Linked DNA regions of Homo sapiens: region 1 is linked to region 2. Evidence: promoter capture Hi-C in human tissues and cell types (Jung and others, 2019). All regions are on one chromosome and are shown on one strand. The core of a region is centred on a gene start or on the middle of the fragment in contact, and the rest is flanking DNA. Distances in the headings are between cores, read along the strand shown. Region 1 has its middle 57 kb from the start of AGPAT4. Region 2 holds the start of MAP3K4 (mitogen-activated protein kinase kinase kinase 4).

Region 1 (2,783 bases), core at 274-2,773, 340 kb before region 2:
ATACAAAATTAGCTGGCATATGCCTGTAATCCCAGCTACTCAGGAGGCTGAGGCAGGAGAATCGCTTGAACCTGGGAGGCGGAGGTTGCGGTGAGCTGAGATTGCACCATTGCACTCCAGCGTGGTAACATGAGCATAAACTCCGTCTCAAAAAAAAAAAAAAAATACTTGACCAGTAAATTTAAACCATAATGTATATTGACAATTTTGAAGCCATTTCCAATTCTATTTCACCAATATTTTAAAAATCAGCTTATCTATTAAAGATTGACTCAAGTCACATGAACTTGAAAAAGCCTTTGTTAAAGTCTCCATTTCTTCTGATAAGGTATTCGATATAAGTGCTTTTTTTTCTTCTTTAAGCCAGTTGATTAGAGCTCTTTTATGTCTTTTTAGTAGTGAAATCTCATATACACGACACATAAATACATAGACGTATTAGACATGCAGATAAAAGTAGATCTTATACATTCATAAGCCCTCTTATTTTTTCCTCCTATTTTAGATTTCCAATTTCTTGATAACCTGTGTTAGAAATGTTTGTTCTTCGGTGCTATAAAGAAATAGCACTTGAACATAAATTTAATTTCTTCAGCAAGGCCATTTTTTTTACTTTGTGCAGAAAGGGTACACTCGCCAGCAGTTTTGCCACAAGAGTACACCGAACAAAGGAGACAGGGTCATTTATAACCTGACATGTCCACCTTACTGCTGTGCCTGGTTTCCATCAGCTGGAACGGGACCTCACATTCTGTATTTGTCCTGATTGGCTAGCAACTTACAACTTTTTAAAAGAGGCAAAGGCAGAGGAGAACAAAGGAAGGAGGAAGTAACTTGTGGAATGCTGAGAAAGGTAAAAACACCTTCAAATATGGAAGAGGAACAGGCTATGACTTAATGCTTGCTTGGACCAGTATAAGCGTGCCAGGGCAAATACTTAGGCTAAATTGTGGGAGCTAAGAACATAAAGTACATTGATTTCCTTATTACGGCTAACAGATACTTAAGAATGTTAGCACAGGCCTTTGAATAAATTTTGCTTCTAAGAGAAGTTACTATTTATTCTTAATTAGATGGGGAGGAAAGCCTTTGAAGAGGAACCTCTACTTTACTTTTTACACCTGTTTTATTATCCTAGCCAGTTGTCAGCCAGGTAGCCCTAAGTTTGCATATTAAGGAAACAGCTCCTGGGGGAAAAATCAGATATCAAAGTTTACATCTCAAAGTACAGAGGGAAAGAGTCTGATGTGCTAGAGGGAGATTAAGAACGGATGCCAAATCAAACATGAAACTATAGAAATCTATCATAGGATTGTATAAGGAGACCAATTTTATTTAGATAGGTAGTTCTAAATTTAGTCTCTAGCTTTTAACTGGATCTCTGAGCTCTGGGCAGAGCCCACACTGAATCCTGTGTCTCCCAAAACATATAATTTTTTGAGACTAGAACACATGATGCTTTTACAGTGTACCTATTTTTTAATAAAGACATTTCTCTAAGTGTCTAAACTACACTCTTCCTTAAGTAAAACACCCAAGAGTAGACTCTGCTGAAGTAACTATTTTAGTCAGAAAAAAAAAAAAAAAACATCAGGTAACACAATACAAAAGCAAGGAATTTAAGATATAGGATGAACTTGTCTGTTTACACTTTTAGGGTTCCAAAATAAAAAACAGAGGTTTCACCCCAAAGGGGAGTCTGACACCTTCTCTGCTTTCTTTAAGGAATCACAGGCTGTTAGAAAATGTTTTAGGTCTCTCATGTAGCAACGTGTCAAGAGCAAGGAGAGGCAGCAAAAGTTAACGTAGAAAACAGATTTCGGTCAACTGAGAAGAAAGAAAGAAAAAAAACTTTTCTTATAAAAACAAGGTTCTACGAGAGGAAAAAAAGATCTTTTAAATAAACACACACACACACACACACACACACACACACACACACACACACACACACACACACACACTGGATATTAGCTTTTAATTAAGCTGACTTTTAACCACTGAGCTCCTTAGAACAAATTTTTAAAATCTTATTACCATATTTTAGCTGGGCCAAATTGCTGATATTTCAAAAGTAGCACAAATATCAAACCGAAAAGGACTTGATTTAGGAACCAAACCCAGGCTGTAGTAGTGGAAAAAAAGGGCAGAACTAAGCTATTGAACTGCAGTGGGGCAACAGCCATTGCTCTCTTTCAGTGTGGCTTGGCTAGCAAAAACGTGGCCTTGTTATGGAAATAAAGCCCCTAGGGCAGTCAAAATCAAAAATCGTTCCCTTTTTTTCCCTTTTGCTGGCCATTTTTTTCTTTTTCCTTTTTTTTTTCCAGCTGCAGGAATGTAGCCAATTCAGAGGACTTGTTCCCCATAATTTGAAACTTTTCTTTGGATTTGATCAAGTTGGATGGAGTTGGTCAAACCCAATGGGAAAAAGACCAAAACAACAACAAAACAGAAACAAATAAACAACAACAACAAAAGAGTTAAGCAAAACAAACAATTGCACAATTTATACGATTACTGAGCGCTCTAATGGTAAGGCGTAATTAATACTAGCTGGTTGTGAATCTTGACTTTAGTGATTAAGAAGAATTTCCAAGACAAAAAAAAAAAGAACAATTCAGCTACTTACCTAGGAATGGGTCCCAGGTTGAAGACTGCTCTCTACCATCCTAGAAACAGGAGAAAAACTCAAACTTGCCTTGCCTGTTGGAAGTGAGCTGCAAGTCCAGAAAAGAGTTGCCTGCCTTCCATCATCATGAAGCAGGAAAACTTGCCTTCATTGT
Region 2 (3,112 bases), core at 337-2,836:
AAAATTGCTCGAAAACTGATCCGTTAACAAATTTATAATAAACTTTCTGACAAAATTTCTAAAAATACTAGATGTATTCAAAAGGAACCAAAGGAATTCTCATTACACCCTGTACCATTATTCAGAGAAGTTGTTCCTTAGAAGTACCCAGAACTATCTCAGAATTAAAAGAGGCAACTAATTTCTTCACAGCTTATAAAAATAAAACAAATTTGTTTGGGCCAACTGAATGATGACAAGCAAGAATATGGCTCCTGTGTTCAGTTCTAACTACAGTTACAGGTGTGAATTTTCTTTAAGCAGGAAAAAGAGGACACTTTACTGCCTTATTCCTAGAACCATAGAGCAAGACCATAAGATGCCAAGAGGAGCTGCCGAGGTATTTTCATTACAGGGGACAGGGGGCAGCAGTTTGCAAGTTTACTCTGGGATGCAAAGGACAGGGAGTAAGAGGACATTTGAACATACAAACATAGGCACGTAAAAAGAGGGAAATTCTCAGTTATGGTGAGTTTGTTCTCTCAATTAAAAAAAAAATAAAGACATAAAAATAAGTTAATAGAGTATGGAAGAAAAAGCAACAAATGCTTTGGTTACCGAAGTTCCACCTTAGAGCTTCCTGCAGTAGCAAAGTTTTAGACAAATGAATCCTTACTTTTGTGCACGTGTGAGCAACAATCTGCACAATACTAGCACTAAAGGACAGTAAGGGGCCCTCAGAACAGGAAAGCAACGTATCTGTCTGCATAGTCTAAGTGCAATTTCTCACGGAAGAGATGACAGGCATTCTCTGGAGCGGGCAAAAGGAGAGGAGGAGGAGAACGCGGGGAAATAGCCAGTACGCACTCGATTTCCGAATGTCTCTTTTACTCGAATGAGGGCAGAGGGGAGGGACCACTTTCGTTCAGTAATGATGAGAGGCACTTCAGTGAGGCCACTCTTCCGAAGCTAGCGGCAGGGGAGGCAGCCGCACTCTGCTCCCAGCCCCCGCAACGTTGAGGGTGAGCTGGGGGAGTCTACAAGGGAAGGGGAGCCGGCAACACGCTCGAGCGGAACCCTGCGGAGCTGCAACCCCGGGAGGAGTCGCCGGACAGACTCAGACGCGGTCCCCTGGGACCCAGGGATGCACCGCGCCCCTCCCGCCCCAGCCTGCAGAGACTGGATGCTTCCCTCCCCACCTGGCGGGAAGCAGAGGCCCTCGGGCCCGACCGAGTTCGGGCCAGGACCCGCCCCGCTTTCTGCGAGCGACCGACTGCGGCCGCCACACTCACCTCGCCGCCAAGCAGCACTCGGGTTCTGACTCGGTCTCGGGTTCCGGTGGCGGTGGTGGCGGCGGCGGCGGTGGCGGCGGCTCCTCCATGGCGGCGGCAGGCGTGACGGCAAAGGCGGGAGGAGGGACCAGCGCGGCAGCGGCTTCTCTCATCCGTGCACGGAGCCCCGCATGGCCGCGGCGGGCAGTAAGCTGCAGCCTGGCGCGGGGCACCGGAGCCCCGAAGTGCGGGAGTGACTCGACTCCGCCTCCGCCTCTACCCCGCCGCAGGAGCCGTGCGCGCCGCGGCCATCTTGGAAACGGCGACCGGCCGAGCGCCGGGGCTACGGTGGGCGGCGAGGGACAAGCCTCCCAGATCGGCGGCGGTGGCGGCGGCGGCGGCGGGCGCCGGAATGCGACCGGACGGGGGCGGAGACGGCGGCAGGGAGGGGCGGGGAGCGCCGTCAAGTGTCGGCGCGATTCGGTCCTGGAGCCGGGTCTCGCCAGCTCGCCCGGTGTCGCCCCGGCCGGTGGCAGTGGGGGACTGTGGAGCGGAGCCGGGCTGTGCAGCGGGCTGGGAGCTCGAGGCTTCCCAGGCGGTCGTCGGTCTGGGAGGGACGCTGGGTAGGGCCGATGAGCGGGGCGGGCGCGACGCTATGAGCCCGGCCGGAGTCGCCGCCCAGGGACCTGCCACCCGGATCCCACCTTCCAGGAGGACGGACGTCACCCAGACGCTCGCAACTCCGGTCTCTTGACAGCGCAGCCTTCCACAGGCTCGAATTTTTAAGACTTGACATAAAGTCTCCGGAATTCCAGATTATTAAAGTGACCCCCTCATTTCAACCCGGCAAAACTTCTCACCCCAGTGTCATAAGATTCGATAGCGATCTCCCAGAAACTTGGACTGGAATGCTCCTACACTGAGGGGATGGGGGGAAGAAGAAATGCTAAAGATTATTTCAGAGTTACAGAAATCCTGTTGAAATTCCAATGCATCGTTTACTCTTAGCGCTGGGGCTTCACAGTTTTTTTTTAAGTTGGAAATATTTACAAAATTTCCCATAGGGTGAAATCCAGAGTTAATCCAAAACCAGAATCTTTTAAAATTAAGTACATTCAAATGTGCAGATTTCTTAAACCTCATTTAGTTGAGCTTTGATAGGTGAAACGCACGTTTTGAACAACTCTGGTAACAAAGAAAAACATTAAATTGATTATAGGTATGTTATATTTAAAGACCAGTTGTGAAATTAGCTATATTGTGCTCAAAGTATGTTACTGACATTTCTCCGTCGTTAAAAGGAACTGCTCCATTCTAGTTTTTTATAATAGTCTGTATTATGTATATAGCCTGATAGTGCTGAATTTCTGAATTGACCTTCATCTTATTTACTCAATAATATTCATTTGACAAATACTTATTAAGTGCATATATGTGTCAGGAACTGTACTAGATGCTGAGGATATAGCAGTAAGCGCAACAGACCAAGCTAACAGCTTAGTAAAGGGTGAGGTAAAACAAAACAAAAAAGTATTCAAAAAAATAAACTAATTTTTATCTTAATTTAAAAAATTACAAATTTTTAAAAATCACAAATTGGTATCCATGTATAATTCATTTCCGTGCATTTTCTTGTGTGAAGAAAGCTCAGTAAAAGTATTTCTTAGGTTTCTGTAATTCTAGTTCTCTACTCGATTTTCTTCTGCAATTTTCTGAGCCAGAACCCTTCTTAGAAGGCATATTAGAGACTTTAAAAGTTAAATAATAAAATAAATCTCTTCTTTAAACAGCATTGTACTACGTATTCTTTGGTATGACTACCGAATTTAAGCTAGCTGATAATGCAGACACGTGTGTCCAAG

Evidence for each region. The method cuts DNA at HindIII sites, captures the fragments that hold promoters and counts their contacts. A contact is called where the count stands out against the background at its distance.
Region 1: a contact is called between a fragment that was not itself captured here and the fragment with the promoter of MAP3K4 in region 2, in 1 of the 25 tissues and cell types used here (dorsolateral prefrontal cortex).

What each region holds. Positions count from the first base shown.
Region 1 is chr6:161,330,033-161,332,815 of GRCh38, reverse strand. No RefSeq gene overlaps it. Among named protein-coding and RNA genes, the nearest start is that of AGPAT4, 57 kb to the right of the region's middle. The HindIII fragment of the contact is 7,948 bases long and covers 1-2,783 here.
Region 2 is chr6:160,990,243-160,993,354 of GRCh38, reverse strand. MAP3K4 (mitogen-activated protein kinase kinase kinase 4) reads right to left here and starts at 1,586. Exons shown (of 27, transcript NM_005922.4): 1 at 1,272-1,586. The coding sequence starts at 1,423. MAP3K4-AS1 (MAP3K4 antisense RNA 1) reads left to right here and starts at 1,013. Exons shown (of 1, transcript NR_174962.1): 1 at 1,013-3,037. RefSeq lists silencers at 781-910, 824-1,118, 1,581-1,910 and enhancers at 1,179-2,048, 2,001-2,070, 2,091-2,150. The HindIII fragment of the contact is 15,236 bases long and covers 1-3,112 here.